7 separate regions of the Homo sapiens genome follow, and regions 2, 3, 4, 5, 6 and 7 are each linked to region 1. The links are contacts of gene promoters, found by promoter capture Hi-C in human tissues and cell types (Jung and others, 2019). All regions are on one chromosome and are shown on one strand. The core of a region is centred on a gene start or on the middle of the fragment in contact, and the rest is flanking DNA. Distances in the headings are between cores, read along the strand shown. Region 1 holds the start of USP18 (ubiquitin specific peptidase 18). Region 2 overlaps BCL2L13 (BCL2 like 13). Region 3 overlaps BCL2L13 (BCL2 like 13). Region 4 overlaps MICAL3 (microtubule associated monooxygenase, calponin and LIM domain containing 3). Region 5 overlaps BCL2L13 (BCL2 like 13). Region 6 overlaps BCL2L13 (BCL2 like 13). Region 7 overlaps MICAL3 (microtubule associated monooxygenase, calponin and LIM domain containing 3).

Region 1 (4,125 bases), core at 66-2,565:
TCTCCCTCCCGTTTTGTTCCTGCGAACACATCGGTAACCTGCATTCACTCTCCATCCAACTCTGTTCAATACCAGAAAGAAACTTCAGATGAAATGCTTTTCAGTATTTGCCTTGTTTTCTGGAACAACTTTAAAGTACAAATTATACCTAAATAAGTACAAATTAAAGCCTCTGCTTTAATTTTCAAACACTTTGAACCCAGATTTTCAGGGGTCTCAAAATGGAGTTTTGTGTTTAAAAGTCTAAATTTAGCTTTCTTCCAAGGAAAAGGGTGTGAAGAAGAGAGGTTAAGACTAAAATACTCTGATTTGCAGAGTTTGACAACATCCTTCCAATTTCTCAATATGAATGCCCACTGACCCAGCCATTCCACTTCTAGGAATTTTCCACCGATATATTTGTATGAATGTATACATAAAATTATATTCATTGCCGTATCTGTGCCAGTAAAAACTGGAAACAACCTAAATCTCCATGCATTGTTTAAACAATGTACTTCCCATACCATGTATCAGGTTTTTTTGTTTGTTTGTTTGAGACAGTTTCGCTCTGTCGCCCAGGCTGGAGTGCAACGGTGCGATCTCGGCTCACCGCAACCTCCGCTCCCGGGTTCAAGCGATTCTCCTGCCTCAGCCTCCCGAGTAGCTGGGATTACAGGCATGCGCCACCACGCCAGGCTAATTTTGTATTTTTAGTAGAGACGGGGTTTCTCCATGTCTGTAACTCCTGACCTCAGGTGATCCTCCCTCCTCGATCTCCCAAAGTGCTGGGATTACAGGCGTGAGCCACCGTACCCGGCCGAATCAGTTTTTTGTTTTATTTTTAATGCCATTAACACATCTATATGTCCTGCCATGAAAAGATGTCCATAATATACTCAGTGGACAAAGCAAGTTCGAAATGATTTTAAAGACTTGTACATAGAAACATTTCTGATAAGGTACAAACAAAAATGATACTGAGTGGAAGACTGCGAGACACATTTGTCTGCATTGTTTGAATTTTTTTACAAGCTTACAACACTTCTGCAATTTCTTTTTTTGTTTTAATTAAACACAAAGTCATGTCAAAAGTCCAAATAACTATATTAGCTTAGAAAAAAATTCACTGGCCCAAAATATATGCACGTAGTAAATACAGATCACTATCATAATTTGCAGAGCACAATTATTACTTAATTCCTTAATTATCTGACTGGCATAGGAGCAGAGTTGGATGTCTGTGCTAGAAAGAAAACTTCCAAAATGAGCCCCGAACTTGCCTCAAGCGCCATGCAAGCGTCCAGCCTCCGCTGCTGAGTTCCACGTCGGGACTGAGCCGGGGACCGAGCTGGGACCGAAGTTCCGCTCCGGGCCCGCCTTGGTCTGGCCCCGCGCTCGTGGCACCCCGCCCAGCTTTCGTTTTCCACTGAATGGAAAGCGAAACTTACAGCGGCCTCCGCGCCGGGAGCTGGGCGCCAGCGTGCGGGGAAACCCTGCCGGCCCGAGCTTCCCGCGGCTGCCGTTGCAGCCGCGCACCTGCTCCAGACTTCCAGCCCTCGCTTTTTTTTTTTTTTTTTTTTTTTGAGACGGAGTCTCATTCTGTCGTCCAGGCTGGAGTGCGGTTGCGCTGTCTCGGTTCACTGCAAACTCCGCCTCCTGGGTTCAAGCGATTCTCCTGCCTCAGGCTCCGGAGTAGCTGGGATTACAGGCATGCGCCACCACTCCTGGCTAATTTTTGTATTTTAGTAGCGATGGGGTTCCGCCATGCTGGCCAGGCTGGTCTCAGGTGATCCGCCCGCCTCCTAAAGTGCTGGGATTACAGGTGTGGGCCACCGCGCCCGACCTACAGGCGCCTTTTTATTTGCGATTTTAAGGTCCTTGCAATTAGCCTACGTGTTAGAGTCATTTGGCGTTTGGTAGTATCCATGGCAGCATTTTTTCTTTCTTAATGCTATTGTATTTCTTGGATCGGGTGTCTTCACATCACCGGCCTGTGGCTTGGATGCGGCACATGGTGTAATTAGGAGCTCCCCTGTGGGCATGCAGATACAGATATTTCTCCACTTAAGAAGGGGTCAGGGGGCGCGGTGGCTCACACCTGTAATCCCAGCACTTTGGGATGCTGAGGCAGGCGGATCACCTGAGGTCAGGAGTTCGAGACCAGCCTGACCAACATAGTGAAACCCCATCTCTACTAAAAGTACAAAAATTAGCTCGGCGTGGTGGCGCTTAATCCCAGCTACTTAAGAGGCTGAGGCAGGAGAATAACTTGAACCCAAGAAGCGGAGGTTGCAGTGAGCAGAGATCGACAAGAGCAAGACTCCGTCTAAAAAAAAAAAAAAAAAATGGGGTCAAGTCCCAGTGAACCCATCATGAAGTCGAAACATCGTAAGTGAAACCACGGTAAGTGATGGACCATCTGTGTATATATAAGGTTAAGAGATCTGTAACATGCACACCGGAAAGGCTTATTACCTCTTTAGAGATGTATTTCTTGTATGTAGACTCATGGGGGTAGGGGCAGAAGGGTTATCTGCTAGGGGCCTCAAACTCCAGCCGCTGGAATTTGCGCAGGAAAGCAGGGTACAATTCCCCCAAAGCGATCATTCTTTCTGAAAGCCGTCCCCGCAGCAACAGACAAATAGCCTCCAAAAACCCAAAGCTGCCAGAACCTCACTGAAGCGTTGGTAGGGTCTGCAGTAAGGTACAAAATACCATGGCATGAAGATGTATAAACGTGTCCATAATAGGGTGGATGTGTGTTAGAAGCATGAGCACAGATATACACATACAGGCTATCCACACGTCCATCGTCAGCCCAGACTCCGCTTACATTGCTGCTGGAACGGAGGCAGTGTCGCCCACAGTGCAGCATGTTCTCCCTGGAAGGCTGGTGGACTTTGCGCAGTATGGTGTTTACACAGGTACACGGTGGTGGGCGCAGGGTCCGTCCTCATTATATTTGCTGACCAATCAGTTATATAACCAGCTTCATACATCTGGTAAGTCTTGTCCACAAACAGGAACCTCAAAAACTCAAGTGAGGGCAATGAGGAGAGGAGGTTGCAAAATTTGATAAAATATGCTAAATACAGCAAGTCAGTAGAAGGCTAAGGAGCAAGCTGCAGTTGCTTGCAGCAACTATCAGCAGAAAACTATTAATAGTCAATCCAATGATTCTATCTGAATCTTGGTAGGTCGGTGGAGCAAAGTAATTGGTGTTGCTGCCCCAGTGCAGAATGGACAAGGGTGAACCTTGGGTTGGAGGCTGGACTATATAATGTAAGGATCCATTACACTTCTATGGGGCTCTTCCTTCCGTCCTTCATGGTACCCTCCTGAACAATTCCGTGCTAAGGCCATCAGGTGTGTCAAGCAAAGTGGGCGTTTGTGTAGTATGTTCCACAGTGGCCCAAGCAGGGTGCTGGACTGGAGCAGGTTGAGGAGGGTGGCAGCACAGTGGGGCTGCCCAGCACAATGTCAGACACAAATGGGTGCTGGTGCAGCCCGGCCCAGGGTCACAGCCCAAGCAATTTGAAGATGTGGCACATCCCGGTATTGGAGTGGCCCAGTGTGTGGTGTCCAGGGAGGGCAGGGTGCTGGTGGAGATGACAGATTAGTTACATACAGGGGGATGACCAGGTAACTGAATGTATTAAGGATAATTGGAGCCAGAGTTGAAACTCTCAGAGATAGGAGTTACAAATAAGGAAAGGGAGAATGAGCCCACTAGTGTTGAACTGGAATTGGACTTAGCAGTGTGGATCCATGATTTTCAGTATGTATACACAGATAGATAAAGAAGTACAAGGCGGGTGGATCACGAGGTCAGGAGATTGAGACCACCGTGGCTAACACGGTGAAACCCCGTCTTTACTAAAAATACAAAAAATTAGCTGGGTGTGGTGGCACACGCCTGTAGTCCCAGCTACTCGGAAGGCTGAGGCAGGATAATCATTTGAACCCGGGAGGCAGAGGTTGCAGTGAGCCAAGATTGCATCATTGCACTCCAGCCTGGCGACACAGCGAGATCCCCTATCCAAAAAAAAAAAAAAAAAAAAAAAAAAAAAGAAGTACATGTGGAGGTAAACATGTGTATACATGCATACATCCCCTGACTTGGTCTGTAGGGGGCCTGGGAAC
Region 2 (3,701 bases), core at 589-3,088, 440 kb after region 1:
TTTTAAAACTAGGCTAAGTCTTTTTGTTAAATGAAGAACAAGTTGGGAAAGTTAATATACAATACTGAGTAAATCTGTCACAGTCTCACCATGAGAAGATCATCCAATTTTATCAAATAATTTGCATTTCAGAGTTACGAAAAATAGTCAAAGAACATCAGTTACTTCACTACAAGTGGCTTAAAACAGTGTACTCTTCCTAGTCTTTCACTTACATTAAAAATTTACACCAAAAAAAAAAAACCTTCAAAAAACGTTATTAAACTCCCACCTCCAAACTTGAGTTACCTGGAGACAAGGAACATAATTTCTTATGTTCTTTATTCTTAATCTTGGAGTCACCTCTGCTCTCACTTTCTATTCATACTATACAAGTTTTGTAATCTGTTTTCATGCCATGTCAAAAGATGTGCCTTACAATTACACAGTTCTTCAAACAGAAGGGTCATCCAGTGATCAGAGAGGTCTCAAGTGACAACTGATAGGAATTCTCAACAGGTTACTTACCTGCACTTCTAAAAACAGAGCCTCTAATAGCAGTAACTGATTAAATAAGCAAAAACAAAAACAAGAGTCATAACGAAAACACTAAGAATTTTAGTTCTCAGTAAACAGACCTTTAGGGCTCTAAGCCAAGTAAGTAAAATGGAAATTTCAAAAGTACCATCATGGCTGGGTGTGGTGGCTCACGCCTGTAACCTTAGCACTCTGGGAGGCAGAGGCAGGCAATCACTTGAGCCCAGGATTTTGTGACCAGCCTGGGCAGCATGGCAAAATTGCACCTCTACAAAAACATACAAAAATTAGTTGAGTGTGGTGGTGCATGCCTGTGGTCCCAGCTACTCAAGAGGCTGAGGTGGGAGGATCGTTTGAGCCCAGGAGGTAAAGGATGCAGTGAGCCGAGATTGTGCCACTGCGCTCCAGCCTGGCCAACAGAGTGAAACCCTGTCTCAAAAAAAAAAAGGCCCATCATGAAGAAATAAGGGAAAAGTCAACAAACTGAAAATTAAAAGTAAAATGTCTCTTCCTCTTATGATTATTTTTTAATGAGGGTCTCACTCTGTCACCCAGGGGCTACAGTGCAGTGGCATAATCGTAACTCACTACAGCCTGAAAATCCTGGGCTCAATAGATCCTCCCACCTCAGCCTCTTGAGTTGCTGGGATTACAGGCATGAGCCACCGCACCACCACGCCTGGCTTTTCCCCTTATTTTTAACAGCTCAAAGTTAACAAAAGATTGAAGAACGTTCTTTGTTCCACATCTAGAGGATCTTTTCATCTCATCTAAGACATTAGATCAAGTTTGTCTGATCACAACTTTGGCGTAATATATTGTTTAAAAGCCAATTCAGATTTATTTATTTATTTTTTTTTATTTTTATTTTTTTTGAGACGGAGTCTCGCTCTGTCGCCCAGCCTAGAGTGCAGTGGCTCGATCTTGACTCACTGCAAGCTCCGCCTCTTGGATTCATACCATTCTCCTGCCTCAGCCTCCCGAGTAGCTGGAACTATGGGTGCCCACCACCACGCCCGGCTAATTTTTTTGTATTTTTAGTAGAGACGGGGTTTCACCGTGTTAGCCAGGATGGTCTCGATCTCCTGACCTCGTGATCTGCCCACCTCGGCCTCCCAAAGTGCTGGGATTACAGGCATTTATTTATTTTTTATTTTTATTTACTTTTTTTTGAGACAGAGTCTTGCTCTGTCACCCAGGCTGGAGTGCAGTGGCGTGATCTCAGCTCACCGCAACCTCCGCCTCCCAAGTTCAAGCGATTCCCCTGCCTCAGCCTCCGGAGCAGCTAAGATTACAGGTGTGCGCCACCATGCCCGGAGAATTTTTTTTTTTAATTTTTAGTAGAGACAGGGATTCACCATGTTGCTGGTCTCAAAGTCCTGACCTCAAATGATCTGCCTGCCTCGGCCTCCCGAAGTGCTGGGATTACAGGTGTGAGCCACTGCACCCGGCCAATTCAGATTAAATAGCTTTATGTCTTGCTGTCATGGCCTCCCTACCTTACAATGTATTTCTGTATTTAGGACGTGACATTTTAATGAAGATTCACTGAACATTCTGTGCTGTTATGTAAGAAGTCTTACAAGAAAGAACAGATTACTAAGCTTTTACTCCTGGGGACCAATTCACATAAAACAAAAATATAAAAATAGCAGCCTCTTTTTTTTTTTTTTTTTTTTTTTTTAAGACAAGGTCTTACTGTTACCCAGGCTGGAGGTCAGTGGCGCAATCTTGGCTTACTGCAGCCTTGACCTCCCAGGCTCAAGTGATCCTCCTGCCTCAGCCTCCTGAGTAAATGGGACCACAGATTACTTCCAGTTAATTTTTATATTTTTTGTAGAGATGGGCTCTCACTCACCATGTTGCCCAGGCTGGTCTTGAGCTCCTGGACTTGGGCAATCTGCCTGCCTCGGCCTCCCAAAGTGCTGGGATTACAGGAGTGAGCCACTGCACCCGGTCAATGTTTTCTTTTGTTTTAATAGCACTCTGTTGCCTAGGCTGGAGTGCAGCAGCACAATCTCAGCTCCTGGGTTCTGCAACCTGGGTTCAAGAGATTCTCCTGCCTCAGCCACCTGAGTAGTTGGGATTACAGGAACCCACCACCATGCCTGGCTAATCTTTCTATTTTTTATTTCATTTATTTATTTATCTTTCCTGAGACAGAGTCTCTCTCTGTTCACCCAGGTTGGAGCGCAGAGGCACAATCCTGGTTCACTGCAACCTCCGCCTCCTGGGTTCAAGCAATTCTCCTGCCTCAGCCTCCCGAGTTGCTGGGACTACAGGCATGCACGACCATGCCTGGCTAATTTTTGTATTTTTCATAGAGATGGGGTTTCACCACGTTGGCCAGGCTGGTCTCGAACTCCGGACTTCAGGTGATCTGCCCACCTTGGCCTCCCAAAGTGTTGGGATTACAGGCGTGAGCCACCACGTCCAGCCTCAGTTTTATATTTTTGAGACAGGGTTTTGCCATGTCACCGGGCTGGAGCCTCTTTTTTTTGTTTTGTTTTGTTTTTGAGATGGAGTCTCACTCTGTCGCCCAGGCTGGAGTGCAGTGGCGCAGTCTTGGCTCACTGCAACCTCTGCCTCCTGGGTTCACGCCATTCTCCTGCCTCAGCCTCCCGAGTAGCTGGGACTACAGGTGCCTGCCACCACGCCCAGCTAATTTTTTGTATTTTTTAGTAGAGACGGGGTTTCACCGTGTTAGTCAGGATGGTCTCGATCTCCTGACCTTGTGAGTCACCCACCTCGGCCTCCCAAAGTGCTGGTATTACAGGCGTTAGCCACCATGCTCGGCCGAGCCTCTCTTAATAATTAATGTCATAATGAAGAGCAGGCTTTCACTAAAAGAAAAAGAGCTGTTTTGGATAATATATTACTTACAACTTATCATATTAGAAGAATAATATCTACAAGTAGCCTCGGAACCATTCTAACAATCTAAATAGTTTTTAATACAAAATATTTGTGTTGTTGAGAGTATCTGTCTCTTTGGCTTCACTGACATAAAATGCAAAGGAGTAATTTCGAGGGCTCAAAAATATAAAACTCATGGGATAAACCATGAGTTTAAATATGCACAAAGAAGCAGAGAACTGCGTCTTTTTTGTTTTTGTTTTTAAATAAATGAAGCCAAAGGGTTTGAGTAACTTGCCCAAGGTCCCTTAGCTTGCTATGACAAATTG
Region 3 (4,032 bases), core at 147-2,646, 470 kb after region 1:
AGACCTTCAGAAATTTCTTTGTCCAGAGATTTTAGCTCTTCTTCAATTTCAGTTTTAACTTTTAATAAAATTTCTTGATCCAGAGATTGTGAAGCTATATCTAGTTGAACCCCTGAAAGCAACAAAAAAGGTTATTATTGAAAGAGGGAGAGAGAAACCATTAGAATATAATAGCACTTTTTTTTTTTTTTTTGAGACGGAGTCTCGCACTGTCACTGGGGCTGGAGTGCAATGGCATGATCTCCGCTCACTGCAACCTCTGCCTCCTAGGTTCAAGCGATTCTCCTGCCTCAGCCTCCCAAGTAACTGGGATTATAGGCGCCTGCCACCACGCCTGGCTAATTTTTTTGTATTTTTAGTAGAGACAGGTTTCACTATGTTGGCCAGGCTGGTCTCGAACTCCTGACCTTGTGATCCGCCTGCCTCGGCCTCCCAAAGTGCTGGGATTTCAGGCGTAAGCCACTGCACCCAGCCCTACAATAGCAATTTGTTAAGCCAAAAAATGCAAAATCAAAATTCATTATCAAAATTAGGGACGGGAGGAAATCCTTTTTGCAATAATTAAAAAACAAAAATCAAAAACAACCTTTAGTAGAAATATTTGGGCCTATGGATTGAGAGTGAGTAAGTCTCCACCTTTCCAGATGTTTCTGCCAGAAACAGGGAAATTGAGCTGAATCTTCAGAAACACATTAACTCAAGAGGAGGTTGGGAAAGATGTATCAATAAGTCGGGCCAGTCCTCTCTTTTTGTAGACAATGTATCCTTTTTAAAAAGTATGAAGATGGAATATGATAAAAACAAAAAGAATTCATGCTATTAATATTTCAGTGGTGGTGGGAGATGTCCATTCCCCCCACTTCAAATTATATAGATCCCTAATTGTATCTCACTTTTGGACACATTTTTAGATGATATACTTCTAGCATTTTATACATGCTTTGTAATTTTCTTTCTTTTCTTCCCCCAACCCTGCCCACAACAGTTAGTTGACTGCTGCTTAAGTCCACAAAGCACACAACTGAGGCTAAAATTCCACCACTGTGGGCATAACGATTTCTTTGTACCAATCACATTAGATTTATGAGTTATGCTCATCACCAGTCTCTCATGCTTATTACTGGTTAATTCTATTTTGCTACTAAGTTTTCTAAATACAGCAAGATAATTATATATCTTTGCAAGTACTAAGGTACAAAAAAAGATACTGCTGAAGCCTGAAAGCAGTACCTCTGTCATTTGACAGTCCAATTTCACCCAAGTTAGTTTTAGTGATAACAATACACAATAATGGCTAATATCAAGTGCTGGGGGCACTATACTAAGCACTTTGTATGTACATGTACGTACGTATGTATGTATGTGTATATACACATATGCTCATAAAATGCTCATAACAACCCTTTGAGATAGGTATTACTATTATCCTCAGTTTGCAGGTGAAAAACCAAGACACAGGGAAGAAATGTGACCAAGGGTGCACCAACAGCAGAGCTCAGATACAAACCCAGGCAGTCAACTTTCAGGGTCTGGGCCCTAACCCCTGCACAATGTCGCCTCTCGCCATTCTTGCAAGCATGGACTATATTAAATCAAACACCCCAAAGTCCAAGCCTGCCTCTATGACAGTGATCACAGCACAGCAGTTCTTGTTCTTGGGCTTTTTGAGATTTCAGGCTCTTAAGAGAATGTCAATAAAATAATGGCCCCTCCTCCCACAATGTTTGGCAAGCAATTTTAGGGCATTCATGGACCCTCTCAGGACCTCTATAAGCCTTGGTTTAAACTCTTTACTAATTACCATCTAATTTTCCTTTTTTTTTTTTTCAGACGGAGTCTCGCTCTGTCCCCCAGGCTGGAGTACAGTGGCGCAAGCTCTGCTCACTGTAAGCTCCGCCTCCCAGGTTCACGCCATTCTCCTGCTCCCAAGTAGCTGGGACTACAGGCGCCCGCCACCACACCCGCCTAATTTTTTGTATTTTTAGTAGAGACAGGGTTTCAGCGTGTTAGCCAGGATGGTCTCGATCTCCTGGCCCCGTGATCCACCTGCCTCGGCCTCCCAAAGTGCTGGGATTACAGGTGTGAGCCACTGCGCCCAGCCCATCTAATTCTCCTTCTTTCCCCGTCCCTGAATTCACATACTCACACCCACTGCATAATATAGTCCTCTTTCATTTGGCTAATGTACTACAGTTTTGTACTATTGGGTAACCTGACTTAATGAGCAGGGCCAATGATCACCAACCACTAAAAGGCTCCAGGAGACAGATCAAGACGAGTAATCGCGGGGCATGGAGGTGCGACAGAGTAGGAAATGGGACTTGGCCCCACCCCACTAATGTGTTTTTCCATACGTTCTCAGTGACCGCCACACCCTACAGCGCCATCCCAACTGGCACCATACCTGCTGACCAGACCTCGCAGGTATGGTATGAAGAAACTATAGGCAGCAGCCTGCCATAAATCTTACTCAAGGGAGTGAGCTCTACCACTCACACGAGCTCAAGGACAATGACCAATCCTAATCACCAGCCTCATTATAATACTAAAATCACCACCCAGAAAGACGCTTATCTGCCACTTTCTGATCATGTGTTAGCACGATTCCTTACCGTGTCTGCACTCCACCCCACACACGTAGTGATGCTCACTTACCTCGTGAATCATGCATGCCACCCTCCTTAAGACACCGCAATGCACTCCCCTCGGAGAGCCAGCTGGAGAACCCTTCCTCCTGTGCTGTCTCCCTTATGTCCAACCTTTCTAGGTATGAGTCTTTTTTTCTTTTTTTTTTTTTTTTTTTTTTTTTTTTTTGAGACAGAGTCTCGCTCTCTCCCAGGCTGGAGTGCAGTGCAGTGGCTTGATCTCGGCTCACTGCAAGCTCCACCTCCCAGGTTCATGCCATTCTCCTGCCTCAACCTCCCGAGTAGCTGGGACTAAGGCGCCCGACACCATTCCCCGCTAATTTTTTGTATTTTTAGTAGAGATGGGGTTTCACCGTGTTAGCCAGGATGGTCTTGATCTCCTGACCTCGTGATGCGCCCACCTCGGCCTCCCAAAGTGTTGGGATTACAGGCGTGAGCCACCGTGCCCAGCTTTTTTTTTTTTTTGAGAGAGAGTTACGCCCTTGCTGCCCAGGCTGGAGTGCAATAGCACAATCTCGGCTGACTGCAACCTCCGCCCCCCGGGGTTCAAGCAATTCTCCTGCCTCACCCTCCCGAGTAGCTGGAATTACAAGTGCCTGCCAACACGCCCGGCTAATTTTTTGTATTTTTAGTAGAGATGGTGCTTCATCATGTTGGCCAGGCTGATCTCGAACTCCTGACCTCAGGTAATCCGCCCGCCCCAGCCTCCCAAAGTGCTGGGATTACAGGCGTGAGCCACCGTGCCTGGCCCATAAGTCTTAATATAGCCTTGTCTGGGAAACTTGCTTGGCCTTGTGTCAATTTCTATTACACAGGAGCCTAAGAACCTGTGGTTGGTAATAAGGGGAAAAAACGAACAAAGAAAACATTTGTATCCAGAGACTAGAACATAAAGGAGACCAAAACGTTTCTCCTGAATTCAAAGTGGGCAAATTTGGGGGTAAAACAGCACAGTTCCTTTTAAAGCTTTAAAAGCTTATATAAAAAGCTCAAGCTCTCCCTACATTGCAAAAATATTCTTTCTTGAATAATTTTTTTTTCTTCTACTTTCAGGTGATTTCAGTACTACAGAACATTTAAACAAAAAATTTAGGATAAAAAGAGCCAAACCAGCCAGGCACAGTGGCTCACGCCTGTAATCCCAGCACTTCAGGAGGCCAAGGCGGGCGGATCACCTGAGGTCAGGAGTTCAAGACCAGCCTGGCCAACATGGTGAAATCCCGTCTCTACTAAAAATACAAAAATTTGCTAGGCATGGTGGCAGGCGCCTGTAATCACAGCTACTCGGTAGGCTGAGGTGGGAGAATCACTTGAACCCAGGAGTTGGAGGCTGTGGTGAGCAGAGATCGCACCATTGCACTCCAGCCTGGGCCACAAGGGTGAAACT
Region 4 (3,716 bases), core at 573-3,072, 360 kb after region 1:
AGGAGGCTCAGGGGCAGGAACCCCCTTGGGAGCAGAACCGCATGTGCACTAGGGCACAGTACAGACACTAACCCCTGCTTGTTGAACATGGTGCATTTCTGCCTCCTTGGTGTGGCCACTGGGTAGAGACTAACTGTCTAGCAGACACCACTGCAGATAAGAGGTGTGTCTGTGTACCGTGTGCCAGAAAGGCAGGTGGAGAAAGGCAGCTAGCAGTGAGGGAGGACTCGGGCTGTGGCTGGCCCTTCTGAGGCTGTGTTCCTCACACTCCTGGGCTTGTCTTAACTGGCCTAGAACGCCCCCTGCCAAGGGACGCAGAGAGTGCAAGGGCCTCTGAAAGATGTCCCCGTCTAGTGCCCCTTAACCTGAGGCCCATGGATGGACCCCAGGAAGCCCAGGAGCAGCTTGGAACTCTGCATCAAATGGTTTGCTCTGCACACATAAGCATTTTTCTAGGAAGAGAGTCCCTAGCTTTTATGAGATTCTCAAAGTGGTTTGTAATCCAAAAATATTGAAGAGCCACTGACACAGCATGTATTTTAGGCAGGACCACACTTTTGCCATGAACTTCTGTGCTCCAAGGAAAAGGACCTTGTTCTCTCGTTGGGTGGCTTGGTCCCTTGGAGACTTCTTCCTTCTGTCCTCCTGCCACAGTGAAGCCCAGTGGTCAGGCCGTCCCTGGGGGAGGTTTGGTATCGGCACCTGTTGGTTCAGGCAGCCTGAGCTAGCAGGCAGCCACCAGACACAGGCATTCTGTTGGATTGGACCAGGGCAGGGCGTGGCCACCTCCTTCCATCCCCAGGGGCTGCTAGTGTTTCTCTGCTCTTGGTGAGAAACCCTGCGGCCATCCTGAGATGCCCTGCATCGACCATGCGGGATCCAGCGGGAGAGCATCCGGAAGCTTGATAGGCCACAAGTTAAGGGGTGGTATCTTCTCTTCCTGGTCAGGAGGTAAACAAATGGACAAGGCATCTATTCTGGTGGCCCCTGGAGAGGGGCAGTAGCCCAAGAAAGAGCTGAGTTAAATGAGCATGACCTGAGGGCAGGGTGCAGTTTACAAATTCACATTTGTCTCGTTTAACAAGACGGGTTTCCTCCAAGGAGACCTAGTACATAGCAAGTGCCAAATAAACATTGAGTGGCAAAAAAGAGGGAAAGCAATGTAAGTCATCCTAAGAGAGCACACAGAGCAGGAGGGGTAGAAACCAGCCCCGGGGAGGGCAAGGTCCCTGCTGGCGAGGTCGCTGACGGGGTGAACAGGGATGGCAGGACACGGGAAAGCGCAGGCCCCAGGAAGGGGGACGCCAGGGCCCCATGGCTGCAGGCAAACCTTGGGCCTGGCTTGGGAGTGGAAGTTCCGGCAGCATCTTGCTCGGCCCTCTTTGCACATTTGCCCCGTGTGATTCCTGCGGGCCAGGGTGGGCGCGGCACTCCCTGCACCCGACACAAGCGTTCTCTCGGCAGGCATGGGCAAGAAGGACGACCCCAAGCTGATGCAGGAGTGGTTCAAGCTAGTGCAGGAGAAGAACGCCATGGTGCGCTACGAGTCGGAGCTGATGATCTTGTGAGTGGCCTTGGGTAGGGGGCGTCAGCGCTATGCTTGTCACAGCCGGCATGGAGGTCCTTCCAGATTTGGGGGTGAGGGGTGGTCCCCAGTCACTGTGGCTTGTCTCCCTCCTGCCCTGCCTCCTCAGTGCCCGGGAGCTGGAGCTGGAAGACCGGCAGAGTCGACTGCAGCAGGAGCTCCGGGAACGCATGGCAGTGGAAGGTGAGTGGGGTAAGGCACCCATGGAGGCCAGGGTGGGTGCCACCTCCAGGCCCCTCACCTCATGCCTTCTTCTCCTTCAAGATCACCTTAAGACTGAGGAGGAGCTGTCAGAAGAGAAGCAGATTCTCAATGAGATGCTGGAGGTGGTGGAGCAGAGAGACTCACTGGTGGCGCTGCTGGAGGAGCAGCGGCTCCGGGAGAGAGAGGAGGACAAGGACCTGGAGGCTGCCATGCTGTCCAAGGGCTTCAGCCTTAACTGGTCCTGAGCTCCCACCCAACGCTCCATTTTCTGTTGGCATCCGCCTGGCCAGGCAGTGGCATCCAAACCACCCGGAGCCGCGATCTGAGGAGGCCTGGCACCTCCTTGGAGTTTACGCTCAGATGCCCGTGTGCTGCTTGGAAAGTGGTCGAGTCCCGCGTGCAGTGGGGAGCCCCAGGTGACAGTGGTTATCTGAGACGGCTCCACCTCCTGGGAGGAGGCCCACCTGGACCTCCCACTCAGAGGAGCAGCACGGCGTGTATGGCATGACGCAGGGGACCACCCCGCGCGCTCCCTGAGGATGTGCTGGCTGTGCCCCTTTTTTCCACTGGCACATTTGGTAAGAGAGGGAAGCTGCTCCCCGTCAGAACCACAGTGCGCCGTGCGAGGGGCACTGTCTTCTTCATGCTCCCTGGAGCACCACCAAAGAAACGTAAACAATACCCCACGAAAGCAGGGTCAGGGGTCAGGGTGCGATCGAGACCCAGGATGGGGGCGTCCAGTCATGCCCACCCCAGCATCACAGGAGACATGGAGGTGCGGGCAGGCTCCTGAATTATTATGCAAATTAGGAGGACGCAGGAGGGGTCTGCCCTCCAGCCGAACACCACACACTGGACCCTAAGTGGCCAAATGCCTGGGCCGCTTGCTGGCTGTGGCCTGAGGCTTGTGGGTTGCTGCATTTTGCTTGTAGTTCACAACCATTTTGACACTGGAAAATGCTGACTTTGGGGGACAGGATGAGGCCCTACATTCTAAGCCCCCAGTTGGCAGACAGGCATTGTCCCTGTTCCACATTTATGTCGGGACAGGAGATGACCTTTTCCTCCGTGTTTTTCCTGTGTTTGCACGTTGAAATGAAGCTGACAACCTGGCAAGACGCTCAGCCGCTTCAAACCCTTTTTGTCAATTAACTTATTTTTTAATACTTGAAAAGAAGTAACTTCGTTTGTGTATCTTTACTAGAGGAACTGATCACCTGCGCCCGGGTGCGGGAGCCACAGCGGCATCTGGTGCGTCCTACGCGACCTGGTCCGGGGCTGCCCGGTGCTCCTCACGTGCATCTATTTATTAGCCTTTCTCTTCGTATCACTGGCCTGGCTGGCATCAGGGAGCTGCCCAGAACCCCTGTGTGGGTCCTCCTCACAGCTTTCTGTCCCCTCCTCCACCCGGTGCCTGCCTCACCCTGGCGCTAGACCATCTGGACCACTCATGTGATGAGGGTGCATTTCCGTTCTGTTTTGGGCCAGGCCAACAGCAGAGCTGCCACTCTCACCCTCCCAGTGAGAATTCCGGCTCTGCAGAACTCGCCCTTGTCTCAGTTTGGGGGCCAGGGCATCACCTTCCTCCGCACATATGTTAAAGAAGGTTTCAGGATGGGCCCTCATCCACACAGGCCAAGAGGGTGCAAGGTGGGACCCTGGAATCATGTGGCTGGTGAGAATTCCCTCCTCCCAGCCTAAGATTCACCCAGACGGAAACGCGAGTGCTGCAGTGGATGCTGGGATGCAGGCTGGTGCCTCTCAAGCAGATCAGCGACTCCCGCCCTTCCTTCCGAAGGCGACGGGCACCTGCCTTGTGCCGGATCTTCATGGGGACATAAAGGGCGAGCCCCGAATCACTAGCTCCTATAGCCAAACTGTTCCTTTCTCACGGTTCCGCACCAGCCTGGCTGTGTACAGCTCATCA
Region 5 (3,957 bases), core at 1,005-3,504, 420 kb after region 1:
CTGCTGGAGGCAGAGGGTGAGGACGTGAAGGAAGAACAGGGATGCTGCCACATCCTGTTAACTCAGGAGCTGACCAAGAGCTACCAGAGAAAGCCAATGGAAAACACTATCTAGTTCCATTACCGTGAAATACAACTGGCCAAATCACTGTGGAGGAATGTCTAACAGGTGGGAAAATAAAGCAGCAAGTAGCCGCTTCCATACCACATTTCTTCCTTATTCTTTCCTTTCGTGGGCAACACAGGCTCCAATTTCCTAAGCCTCACACCTCCTTTCAGCAGCTCAGAGATGAACCTGGCTTCGATTGGTGCTTGAATGCGCTCAGCCAATGGGTGTGAGGATCCAGAACTGGCAAGTGTTAATACTGGAACTCATAGGATTTATTACTTTTTAAAAATCAAGATAACGCACCAGTTTGCTCTTCACCTATGCAAACACAAATATAGCAATTAGAATACAGAACAATCAATGCAACTATCAGAGCCCATGAAGAAAAAAATCATTGCCTCAATAATCCCATTCCCCCCACTCACCTCTAATTACTTAATCCAAGTACACAAAAACCCTTAAAACATCACTCCCTAAATGGGACACTAAAACACAGAACAAAGACACGCTACAGGATAAAGCTGGAAAGACACACAAACATACTCCCAGACCTTGTTTTGACCAATTTTTAAATATTGCTTTAGGGAGATTTTATTTGAAAACATAAATTTCAAAAAGAAAGCACATTTAAAACATCAGGTTTTGGTGATCAGGGTAGGTAAAGTATTTTTATTATAAATTTCAAGATCTAAAAAATAATTTATTACATTTACTAAGATAAATCTAAGATGACCTTTTTAAACCAAGCCACGTGTGCCCTGCATAGTGACGTCGTGGCCCTCGGGCATGGAAAGACACGGGTCTGCCCTTCCTTTAGGGCTGGAAAGACACGGGTCTACCCTTCCTTTAGGGCTGGAAAGACACGGGTCTACCCTTCCTTTAGGGCTGGGATCAGCCAGAGGAAAGAAAATTATGCCGATGCTCAACTAGCATATACTGATTAGGACTATTTTGGTTTATTACCCTGGCATTGAAGAATTCAGGTGAAGATGCCACCACTCTTGAACTCTGAAAGCCAAACTAGAATCTGCAGAGCAGCCTCAGTCTTAAAATTCAAGCTTCTTTTTCCTACTTTTTATTTCAGTGATATTTAGGACACTCTCTATTTCATAAGAATTATGATCTAACTGGCTCTATAAGCCCAAGAATAAAAATCCTTACCCCCTAGCAAGAGACCCATAGAACTCATCAGTAGTAAGACTAAGGTCCCATATTGGAAAAAATATACTAGCCCAAGGTTATAGACAGGGACCATCCAGCAATAGAGATGTTGCTGGCAAGTAACCATGGTGGTGGGTGACCACTAGCGAAAAGGGCTGAAGAGACCTCAGAAGGTCATCCAGGTTATCCTCCTGCCTTGACACAAGACACATGTGTCTCTCTAGCCAGAGTTACTTGCAGTTGCACTCACAAGTGGGGACCCCAGGTCTCCTTCATGTGATTTTCTCTGTGTACATATTTCGAAGATTCCCAAAGGCAGCATTTTTACAAGGTGGAGCTGCAGGAAGCTTCGGGGACTTGACAGACTGAGTCCAGAGCAAGCCCTCGCCCGTGGGATCTTAGCAGGAACCTGGGGGTGAAGAGGAACAGTGCAGTCCCTGAGAGGCAGCTGAGAGTACGGGCGAGCACCCTCACACTCCAGGATGAGGGCGGGGGGCAAAAAAAGAGTGGGTGCAGAGCCTGCTCATCGAGAAAGATGAAATTCTAAGGGGATTAAGAGCTAAGAAGTCAGTAGCTGAGGAGCCCACAGCTAAGTTCTCTCAGCTGGGAATTTCTATCCCAATTCTTCCTAAGTAAACCCTCTCTCGCTAAAGCAGTGGGTCTCAATAGGGGATGTTCACACGGGACATTTGGCAATGTCTAGAGACATTTTCGTTTGTCATCTCTGGGAGGGGGTGCCACTGGCATCTAGTGGGTGGAGCCCACCACACACAGGACAGCCCCAACACAGAGAATGGTCAGAACAGCACTAGTGCCAAGGCTGAGAAACCCGGTCCTGGAGGGGGTGCTTTACCCCTAAGATTCTCAATTTAGCATGAGCGGAGGCCCTTGGGATTTACAGTCAGATGAATGTGAATGCCCCACCTCAAGCCCTAACATGCCTAACATGCCACTGCCATGTTGAGCAGAAGTCCCCAATTATCCCAGAGTGTTCCACAAATGTCCAGACAGCTGCTGGAGGTTCAAATTCCAGCCAATACAACTCCAACCTTACATCCTTCTGTCTTTCTCTTCTGAAAAGCCTCCTATTTCTTTCTCAGAGCCAGGGCTACCCCGATGGCCACTGCCAGGATGGCAACAGCAGCAGCCCCTCCAAACAGCAGTATAGACTTGCCCTCAGACAGCGGCATGGGCTTCATCTCACCGGCGGGGGACAGTCTAGACTTGCCCTCAGACGGCGGCACGGGCTTCTTCTCGCTGGCAGGGGACAGCTCTTCCACAAGGCTCTCTTCCCTTGCGTTTATCTCCTTCTCACTCAGCAGCGTTTCTGTGGGTTCCAGTGCGGGGACCACCTCCTCCACTTCAGTAGGTTCAGTTGTTGCTGCTTTCACCTCTTCTTCATCAAGTTCTACAAACAGAGATGTAGCAGGGCTGGATTTCTCAACTGTGATCACTTCTGTGTCAGGTTCCCTTGTCCCCAGCAGGGAGGTGGCAGTGATATGTGGAAGCAAGGGAGCTGGGGCTTCAGGAAGTGCCTCTTGCAGCTCCCGCGCTGGCAAGACCACAGAAGCCACAGCAGCCTCTTCCATGCCCTCGGGCACCTCTTCTTTCTCCACGTGCACAATGTCAGAATTAGAGGAGTTGTTCTCACTCTTCTCTCCAGCTCCGTTGCTGTCTAAGCTTTTCACTTCTTCAGGATCCATTGCAATCTGCTGCCAGGACTCAGGGCCTAGTGACACTGGCAGGCTTTCTGTGTGCCAACTCTGGCTAGCTGACAGTGACACAGGTAAGCTCTCAGACTGCCAGGAAGTGGTCACAGTTGGAGACTCTGGGGGACTGACTTGTCCAGAGTTGTCGCTGGGCAGGATGTAAATGTCATTGCTATCTTCTGCAGTGATTCCAGGGTATTCCTCCTCCTCTGACTCAAGACTAAACACAGTGCCCTAGAAACGAAGGACAAGCGTCAATAATAAAGAATGGTAACTATTTAAAACATAAACATCAATCTGGAAAGCAAATTCTTTCCTAAACTGAAGTTCTAGGAATGAAACACTGTTTAAACCTACATAGTTTCCGAATGGAATGCATGTATTTGTAGGCCAATGCAGAGAAAGAATTTTTGACAGTCTTCTGAGCAGTCTCCTTGAAACTAAAAAATCCTAAGTTAATATACATTCAGTGTAATTCACACACAGGCTGAGAGCATCCTAATCTGAAAACCTGAAATCTGAAATGATCCAAAATCTGAGGTTTTTTTTTTTTTTTTTTTAAGATGGAGTCTTGCTCTGTCTCCCAGGCTAGAGTGCAGTGGCACAATCTCAGCTCACTGCAACCTCCGCGTCCCAGGTTCAAGCGATTCTCCTGCTTCGGCCTTCCCAGTAGCTGCAATTATAGGCACCTGCCACCACGCCCAGTTAACTTTTGTATTGTTAGTAGAGATGGGGTTTCACCATGTTGGCCAGGCTGGTCTGGAACTCCTGACCTTCAGTGATCCACCCGCCTTGGCCTCCCAAAAGTGCTGGGATTACAGGCGTGAGCCACTGTGCCCGGCCCAAAATCCGAAACTTTTTGAGTGCTGAAATGACATCACAAGTGGAAAATTCCACACTTGACCTCATGTGGTGGGTTGCAGGCAAAACACAGTCAAAAATCTGCTTCATGCACACAAAATATTATATATATTTATGT
Region 6 (3,959 bases), core at 940-3,439, 500 kb after region 1:
TGATAACAGGCCAAGTGTAAACTCCACAGCACTACTACAGGGTTATGTCTCTAAGCACAAAATGGGAGAGGACACCCACTTCCTTTGCAACATTCTGCAGTGTCTAATAAGTATATTGCACAATGAACTTTTGCATTTCTTTTTTTTTTTTTGAGACAGAGTCTCTGTCGCCAGGAGTGCAGTGGCATGACCTCGGCTCACTGCAACCTTCGCCTCCTGGGTTCAAGCGATTCTCCTACCTCAGCCTCCCAAGCAGCTCGGACTACAGGGGTGTGCCACCAAGCCCGGATAATTTTTTGTATTTTTTAGTAGAGACGGGGGTTTCACCGTGTTAGCCAGGATGGTCTCGATCTCCTTATCTCCCGATCCGCCCACCTTGGCCTCCCAAAGTGCTAGGATTACAGGCGTGAGCCACTGCGCCCGGAGGGACTTTGGCATTTCTAATAAACATCATATATAAATTACATCTTCGTGACATCTGTTTCTAAAGCATTTTTCTATGTGTTGTCACAGTAATCCTCTATACTTGAATGAAAATTTTATAGATGGAGAAACAAGAACAATTTATTTGCCTAAAATCATACAGCTAGGTAACAGCACAACCACTTAATTGGGTACACCGTCTTCACTTCCTCTTAGACCTTAACTGTATTTATTCAACACATATTTACTATATGCCAGGTAATGTACTAGGTGAGAGGAATGCAGAGGTGAAAACACTAACACTAGTAATACGGAAGGATACGGTAGCAAAACAAGGTGGTTTTTGTAGTATCACAGATCCAGAGTACTGAAAGAAGCAAATTTGTCAGTTTTGAGAATGGACGGGGGGAAAAAAAAGCTAGATTGGATGAAAGGTAATTATGACGCGGGACCATCACCTAAAGCTTTTGTAGAAGCACTTTGGGAGGCCAAGGCAGGCGGATCACGAGGTCAGGAGTTCGAGACCAGTCTGGCCAACACAGTGAAACCCCGTCTCCACTAAAAATACAAAAATTAGGCCAGGTGCAGTGGCTCATGCCTGTAACCCCAGAACTTTGGGAGGCCAAGGCGAGCGGATCACAAGGTCAGGAGATCGAAACCAGCCTGGCTAACACGGTGAAACCCCGTCTCTACTAGAAATACAAAAAAATTAGCCAGGCGTGGTGGCAGGTGCCTGTAGTCCCAGCTACTTGGGAGGCTGAGACAGGAGAATGGTGTGAACCCGGGAGGCGGAGCTTGCAGTTAGCCAAGATTGTGCCACTGCATTCCAGCCTGGGTGACAGAGCAAGACTCCATCCCAAAAAGAAAAAGAAAAAAAAAAAAAAAAAAAAAAAATATATATATATATATATATATATGTAGTTTATACACACACACACACACACACACACACACACACACAAATTAGCTGGGCGTGGTGGCAGGCACCTGTAATCCCATCTACTCTGGAGGCTGAGGCAGGAGAATCACTTGAACCTGGGAGGCAGAGGCTGCAGTGAGCTGAGATTGCACAACTGCACTCCAGCCTAGGCGACAGAGCTAGACTCTATCTCAAAAAAAAAAAAAAAAAAAAAGACAGATATTTCAAGATTCTTTTCAAATGATGAGAGGGACATATAGTTACCTTTACTCATTGAATTTTATCTAATAGGACCTCTTAAAATTCAAGTTAGTACAAGTGTTCTTGGTATCCAGAAGTGAGTAAATACATAGATGATCTTAACTATAAAAATTGCTATCTTGGCCAGGCGCAGTGGCTCATGCCTGTAATCCCAGCACTTTGGGAGGGTGCGGTGGGCGGATCACCTGAGGTCAGGAGTTTGAGACCAGCTTGACCAATATGATGAAACACCGTCACTACTAAAAATACAAAAATTAGCCTGGCGTGGTGGCATGCACACCTGTAATCCCAGCTACTCAGGAGGCTGAGACAGGTGAATCGCCTGAACCCAGGAGGTGGAGGTTGCAGTGAGCTGAGATCGTGCCATTGCACTCCAGCCTGGGCAACAAGAGCGAGAAACTCTGTCTCAAACAAACAAACAAAAAACCTGCTATAATTTGTACGATTCAAACTATTAAACATAATATGTAACCCACCTGTTTCTTTCTGTGCCTTAATCTTTTTACTTTGTTCCTCTATTAAGTTTCAAGTAGAATTGTCCCTTGGTACCCATGTGGGATTGGTTCCAGGATACCTGTGGATACCAAAATCCTCAGATGCTCAAGTTCCTTATACAAAATGGTGTGGTATTTGTATATAACCTACTCACTTCCTCCCTCTCATATACTTTTAAGTCATTTCTAGATTACTTATAATACCTAAGACAATGTAAATGCCATTAAATAGCTGTTATACTGTATTGGTATCATTTGTATTGTTTTTATTGTTATTTGTGTTTTTTTCCCTAAATATTCTCCAATCAAGACTGGTGGAATCTGCAGAGATATGGAAACTGGATAAAGAGGGCCAACTGTGGTTGCTAGCCAAACAGCCTAAGGAAACCTAGACTAACTTCATGCTGTGTTTATGTATTCATTTGGTGTCATCTCCAAAACCAGCCACAAATAAAACATCCATGAACCTTTAACAACAAATGTATATCCACAATTCTACAATATATGGTTCATTTTCTTTTCTAAACCAGATTTCTATTACAAGTACCAGTCCAAGTTCCAGAATGCTACCAGTGCTGATTATATTGTAGGAATTAGACACATTTTATGAAACATAATCAGAAGGTACACAGCAGCTATTAAATCCTACTATAAACCAGGCATGGTGGCTCACGCCTATACTTCCCAGCACTTTGGGAAGCCAAGGTGGGTGGATTACTTGAGGCCAGGAGTTAGAGACCAGCCTGGCCAACATGGTGAAACCCTGTCTCTACTAAAAATAAAAAAATTAGCCAGGCGTGATGGTGTGTGCCTGTAATCCCAGCTACTCAGGAGGCTGAGGCATGAGAATCGCTTGAACCGAGAAAGCAGAGGTTGCGGTGAGCCTAGATTGCACTCCAGCCTGTGTGACAGAGTGAGACTCTGCCTCCAAAAAAAAAAAAAAAAAAAAATCCTACTATTAGTTCTTATGTAAAGCAAATATGCAGCAACATGACAGTCTTTTGTATTTGTTTCCCAAACTTGTCCCATCAAATTACTTTGGATGCCTATTTAAAAAGAAATTCCTAGGCTGGGTGTGGTGACTCATGCCTGTAATCCCAGCACTTTGGGAAGCCGAGGTGGGTGGATCACGAGGTTAGGAGATCGAGACCATCCTGGCCAACATGGTGAAACCTCGTCTCTACTAAAAATACAAAAAATTAGCCAGGCATGGTGGCGTGTGCCTATAATCCCAGCTACTCAGGAGGCTGAGGTGGGAGAATCCCTTGAACCAGGGAGTCAGAGGTTGCAGTGAGCTGAGATTGTGCCACTGCACTCCAGCCTGATGACAGAGCAAGACTCCGTCTCAAAAAGAAAAAAAAAAAAAAAAGAAATTCCTAGCACTCACATTAGATATACTAATTTAGAGTATCACACTTATACTGTATTCTCTAACCTCACAGAACGAAAACCAAAACACCCTATAGTTTAACACATTTTAATAAATTATTTCAAAAACCTGTTTCTAAATTTCCTTCCACTAAAATATTATAAGATTATTAAATGCAGTCGGGCGTGGTGGCTCATACCTATAATCCCAGCACTTTGGAAGGCCAAGGCAGGCGGATCACGAGGTCAAGAGATTGAGACCATCCTGGCCAACGTGGTGAAACCCTGTCTCTACTAAAAATACAAAAATTAGCTGGGCGTGGTGGCACGCACTTGTAGTCCCAGTTACTTCAGGGGGCTGAGAGAGGAGAATGGCGTGAACCCAGGAGGCAAAGATTGCAGTGAGCCGAGATAGTGCCACTGCACTTCAGCCTTGTGACAGAGCAAGAATCTGTCTCAAAAAAAAAAAAAAAGAATTATTAAATGCTCCAGTA
Region 7 (4,220 bases), core at 163-2,662, 340 kb after region 1:
TGAGCTCACTGCAACCTCTGCCTCCCTGGTTCAAGCGATTCTCCTGCCTCAGCCTCCCGAGTAGCTGGGATTACAGGCCTGTGCCACCACATCCAGCTAATTTTTGTATTTTTAGTAGAGACAGGGTTTCACCATGCTAGCGAGGAGGGTCTTGATCTCTTGACCTTGTGATCCGCCCACCTCAGCCTCCCAAAGTGTTGGGATTACACGGATGAGCCACCGTGCCTGGCCTTCTGTTTTAAATTTTTATCGTAAAGATGGGATTTCCACTGCACTCTTCAGGAACCCCCTCCAGCACTCTAGCAGTCTTGCCGTGAGAACAGTCTGAGGTTCTGGTACTCAGGCCCCTCCTGCCACAGATTACATCCACTTCCTGTCTCTGCAACACTCCTGGGAGGGTGGTCACTACTTGAGTCACGTCCACGCGCTTTGATGCTAACTAGCAAGGCCCGGAGCCTGGCGTCTACACAAGCTAGGTGGTTCTGGTGCAGGTGGTCTCCACGCCACACCCTGAGCGCACCGCCCACAGACTAGAGCCCTTTCCAGAGCGGCAACTCCTGTGTTTCCCCTCGTGTGGGTGTGGAGTTGTGTGTCCTCCTGAAGCAGGGCTGGAGAGCCGGGTGCTCAGTCTGTGCTGTCTGTCATAGATCATCCAGCGGCAGCTGCAGCAGGTGGAGGAGAGGCAGCGGCGGCTGGAGGAAAGGGGCGTGGCTGTGGAGAAGGCGCTCCGGGGCGAAGCAGGTACTGCCGGGCTCCCTCCTAAGCTCTGCTCCTGGAGGAAGCCCTCCCTCCCGCCGTGGTAGGCTAGTTTTGCTTCACCTCACCTGGAATTCAGCTCCTTTTCCAGCAGGATTTTCTGGGGCCCTTCATCTCTGAGATTTGGGGCTTCCTGTTAAGCAAAAGAAAATACCTGTCTGAGACAGCCCCAGGCCCATCCTGCTCCACAGCCCCTCTGGGCTGCCATTTCCCATAGAGTGAAACTCAGTCCCCGGCATGCTGATGGCGAGCGCTGGCTCTTCCCCCTCCTTCCCACCCCACCATTTACTCTAGGAGGGAATAACTGGGAGTGAGGGAGATTGAACCGCAAGGAACCATCACAGAATTGCACTGAGCAGGTCCCCAGCCTGCACCCCCAGACCCCCTCATGTCGTTAGTTCCCTGGGACCCTCCTGCCCACAGAGCCCTCAACACCGCTGGTCGGGGAGCATGTGGCCACCCTCGGCACACACAGATTTCCAGAGGGCACCCAGGCCCTGTGTCTGCTGAAGGCTGGTCACTTAGGGCAGGGCTGGAGAGGCTCAGGGTATGTGACCAGCCGACGTGGAGCAGACTCCGGGGAGTGGCTGGCAGGGCCCTGTGCTCGTGACTGCTGCTCCTGGCAGGGAAGCCCTGGAGAATGTGGTGCGCTCATTCCTGCCATTCCATCCAGGGAACCTGCGCGGCTGCGCTCAGCATAGTTGGGCACAGAGAATGCAAGGGAGTGCCTGAGGCATCTCTGGCCCCACGGCCCAGGAAGTCCTATTGGTTCAGGACCTTGAAGCTGCAGGACCAGCCCCGGGGGTGCAGTGGCCACTCTGCCTTCTCAAACATCCACAAATCTTCGTCTAGTCTCTGGATGGGGGAACTTCCGTCTCTTTATAGCCTGCAGGTTCAGCGTTTAAATTGTGAGCTGGGGATGAAGAAAAGGAGTATCCTCTTACTTCCTCACTCTAGTGTGGCAGAGGGGAGCAGGGTGCCTCTGCTGACAGGCAGGCTCTCTGTGAAATGGACGAACTGGGAGGAGGCGGCCAGGAGCAGGGCCAGCTGCTGCCATCTGATCTTGCTCAAAGACTGACCCATGGGCTCATGGGAAGTGCCTGGTGTCAAGATGAATTCCTGTGGCCTGTAGGACTGAAGTTTGTGTGGTGGGGAGTGAGGGAGTCCAGAATGGAAGTAGGTCTCCTTTCCCAGGCCCTTTAAGGCCTGGAAATTGCAGCTTATAGGGCTACTCAGTGATGACCTTCAGTCAAAGAGATGGGATGGGGAGAAAGGTGAGGATGTGGATGTTCTTGGTTTGGGCTCACCTGATGCTGTTAATGCATGAAGTCCAGGCTACCAAAGGAAATGCAAAAACTTGAAGCACTTAGCATCCGATAGGCTGAGACGACTGGGATGTGTTACTGTGAGACAAGCACAGCAAGGAGATTTGGGTTCACCTAAGAAGGTCTGAGGTTTCCCAGCGAACCTGCGGTGCCCCTGCCCCCCTGCCCTGCTCTGCGCACTCTGATTTGGCCTCCTCAGTTAAGCCTGAGCCCAGATGGAGTTGGCCCCAGCCCACCTGTGCCCGACTGCGTCCGGGCCTATGGGGCCCTGCCCTCGTGCCATTTCTCTTCTTGCAGAAGATATCAGGAGAGAGCCTAGGCTCATCTTCATTCCTTCTTGCCCTTCTCCACAAATCACTTCTGCCAAGATGGAAAGCAGTGGATTAGATCTCAACACACAGACAGAATAACCGCATTTCATGGTTTAAGCCCTTCAGGAAGAAGACAGCTCCCTGCCCTCCTTACTCATGAGGTTGAGGTGGTGGTGCCATCAAGGTTGGTGGTTTCCGTAAAGCACTTGAGCGCCTGTGGCCTCCGTGAAGTCTGAGTGTAAAACAGTGCTTCGACGCCCCTGTCACGGGCCCTGTTATTCAAGCTTCTGCCAAAGGGCCGGAAAATAATATACCACTGAAGATTGGCGTTAGGGTTTTGCCAGAATTATTTCTTCTAGTCATTAGATAATCACATTTCCTCAAACATACACAACCCAAATGCCGTCTAAGTCAGTGGTTTTCAAAAAACTAGCAGCAGACCTCTTTTCACAAGATGATAAGTTCAAGTTTAAAATCAAAAAGAATTACTCTCAAATGTTAATAATTAACACAGATTTGAAAACACAGGTTATAGCAGAGAGTGGTGGACATGACCAAGCCCCGGCATCCAGCCAGTACACACAAGAACTGTAGTTGCTATAAGTGACAACATGGTTTTTTTTATTTGGTTGGTTTTTGGTTTTTTTAACAGCTTACTTGGAAATCTCAGGATTTCTGCAGTTTAAATGATGTAGACACTAGAAGTTTAAAATGAGGCAAGAGCTTTTTTTTTTTTTTTTCCACAGTTGGATCACAGCAAATCTAACAGCAGTTCCTATTCCTCATGACAAGCAAGTCTCAAACAAGAGGCTCCCAAACAAAGTAAACAAAAACCCAGCCATGCTGTAATACCGCAGCAAAACGTGTTACCCACCTACATAAAGGGACTCGCTGACAGGCGTGCGTGCTGTCAGTGAGCTGTAGCTCTCCCGGACAGACCCTGAACGGTGGCAGGTGAGCACTATGCTGCAGGCCAGAATTTAAATAAACAAATGAATAAAATGTCCTCTTCACTAACACATTTACAGGGAGTTCAGCCACTTACACACAGAGAGAGGCGGAAACTTGATCCTGAGGGCTCCACAAAATCAAGCTCACCTGGCAGCACAAATTATTGGGTTGATGGTCTCCAGTGGGTGAAAAGTTGGCATATAAAACATTTGGGCCGGGCGCGGTGGCTCACGCCTGTAATCCCAACACTTTGGGAGGCCGAGGTGGGCGGATCACCTGAGGCCGGGAGTTTGAGACCAGCCTGACCAACATGGAGAAACCCTGTCTCTACTAAAAATACAAAAAATTAGCCTGGCATGGTGGTACATGCCTGTAATCCCAGCTACTCGGGAGGCTGAGGCAGGAGAATCGCTTGAACCTGGGAGGTGGAGGTTGCGGTGAGCCGAGATCACGCCATTGCAGTCCAACCTGGGCAACAAGAGCGAAACTCTGTCTCAAAAACAAAAACATTTGAAGGTGGTGTGTCTTATTTTAATAAGGGCTCTTGAAAGAGCTACAAGTATTTGTACATCAGGTATTTGGGAGACCCCTTGGAATGCCTTTGGAAGAACCTTAGGGTTCCACAGAGGCTTGAAAACCACTGTCGTAGTGCAAACTCCTTCCTTTAGATGAGTCTTCAGCAGATATCTCTATCCAAAGATGTTTCTGTTCTGTTTTTCAAGATGGGCCTTAGTAGCTCTGTTGGGATATTTCGTTGTGATGCATTTGAGAAACTCTCTGGAATTTTCAGGAATTATGGTTCCTACCATAAGAATATAAGAATTTCCAAATATGTTCCTTCTCTTACGTGAATACATCCCTTCCAAGCTGGTCTCCC

What was found. Contacts are between HindIII fragments. The study calls those that stand out against the background at their distance.
Region 2: a contact is called between a fragment that was not itself captured here and the fragment with the promoter of USP18 in region 1, in 2 of the 25 tissues and cell types used here (dorsolateral prefrontal cortex and lymphoblastoid cells).
Region 3: a contact is called between a fragment that was not itself captured here and the fragment with the promoter of USP18 in region 1, in 1 of the 25 tissues and cell types used here (lymphoblastoid cells).
Region 4: a contact is called between a fragment that was not itself captured here and the fragment with the promoter of USP18 in region 1, in 1 of the 25 tissues and cell types used here (dorsolateral prefrontal cortex).
Region 5: a fragment that was not itself captured here is called in contact with the fragment with the promoter of USP18 in region 1 in 1 of the 25 tissues and cell types used here (lymphoblastoid cells).
Region 6: a contact is called between a fragment that was not itself captured here and the fragment with the promoter of USP18 in region 1, in 1 of the 25 tissues and cell types used here (dorsolateral prefrontal cortex).
Region 7: a contact is called between a fragment that was not itself captured here and the fragment with the promoter of USP18 in region 1, in 2 of the 25 tissues and cell types used here (lymphoblastoid cells and spleen).

What each region holds. Positions count from the first base shown.
Region 1 is chr22:18,147,360-18,151,484 of GRCh38, reverse strand. It overlaps USP18 (ubiquitin specific peptidase 18), which reads right to left and starts at 1,315. Exons shown (of 11, transcript NM_017414.4): 1 at 1,263-1,315. LOC124905076 (a long non-coding RNA gene) reads left to right here and starts at 2,271. Exons shown (of 2, transcript XR_007067999.1): 1 at 2,271-2,385. RefSeq lists an enhancer at 1,255-1,574. The HindIII fragment of the contact is 12,042 bases long and covers 42-4,125 here.
Region 2 is chr22:17,708,567-17,712,267 of GRCh38, reverse strand. All of the region lies in intron 6 of BCL2L13 (BCL2 like 13), which reads right to left. Among named protein-coding and RNA genes, the nearest start is that of MIR3198-1, 54 kb to the left of the region's middle. The HindIII fragment of the contact is 6,813 bases long and covers 1-3,701 here.
Region 3 is chr22:17,679,294-17,683,325 of GRCh38, reverse strand. BCL2L13 (BCL2 like 13) reads right to left here. Exons shown (of 7, transcript NM_015367.4): 3 at 5-112. Among named protein-coding and RNA genes, the nearest start is that of BCL2L13, 43 kb to the right of the region's middle. The HindIII fragment of the contact is 4,441 bases long and covers 1-3,616 here.
Region 4 is chr22:17,789,050-17,792,765 of GRCh38, reverse strand. MICAL3 (microtubule associated monooxygenase, calponin and LIM domain containing 3) reads left to right here. Exons shown (of 32, transcript NM_015241.3): 30 at 1,465-1,564; 31 at 1,695-1,768; 32 at 1,850-3,716. The coding sequence ends at 2,034. Among named protein-coding and RNA genes, the nearest start is that of LINC00528, 14 kb to the right of the region's middle. The HindIII fragment of the contact is 5,973 bases long and covers 1-3,716 here.
Region 5 is chr22:17,725,932-17,729,888 of GRCh38, reverse strand. It overlaps BCL2L13 (BCL2 like 13), which reads right to left. Exons shown (of 7, transcript NM_015367.4): 7 at 1-3,212. The coding sequence ends at 2,355. Among named protein-coding and RNA genes, the nearest start is that of MIR3198-1, 36 kb to the left of the region's middle. The HindIII fragment of the contact is 3,423 bases long and covers 543-3,957 here.
Region 6 is chr22:17,644,314-17,648,272 of GRCh38, reverse strand. All of the region lies in intron 1 of BCL2L13 (BCL2 like 13), which reads right to left. Among named protein-coding and RNA genes, the nearest start is that of BCL2L13, 7.5 kb to the right of the region's middle. The HindIII fragment of the contact is 4,256 bases long and covers 62-3,959 here.
Region 7 is chr22:17,805,365-17,809,584 of GRCh38, reverse strand. MICAL3 (microtubule associated monooxygenase, calponin and LIM domain containing 3) reads left to right here. Exons shown (of 32, transcript NM_015241.3): 29 at 648-741. Among named protein-coding and RNA genes, the nearest start is that of LINC00528, 30 kb to the right of the region's middle. RefSeq lists enhancers at 116-912, 3,934-4,220. The HindIII fragment of the contact is 6,514 bases long and covers 1-4,220 here.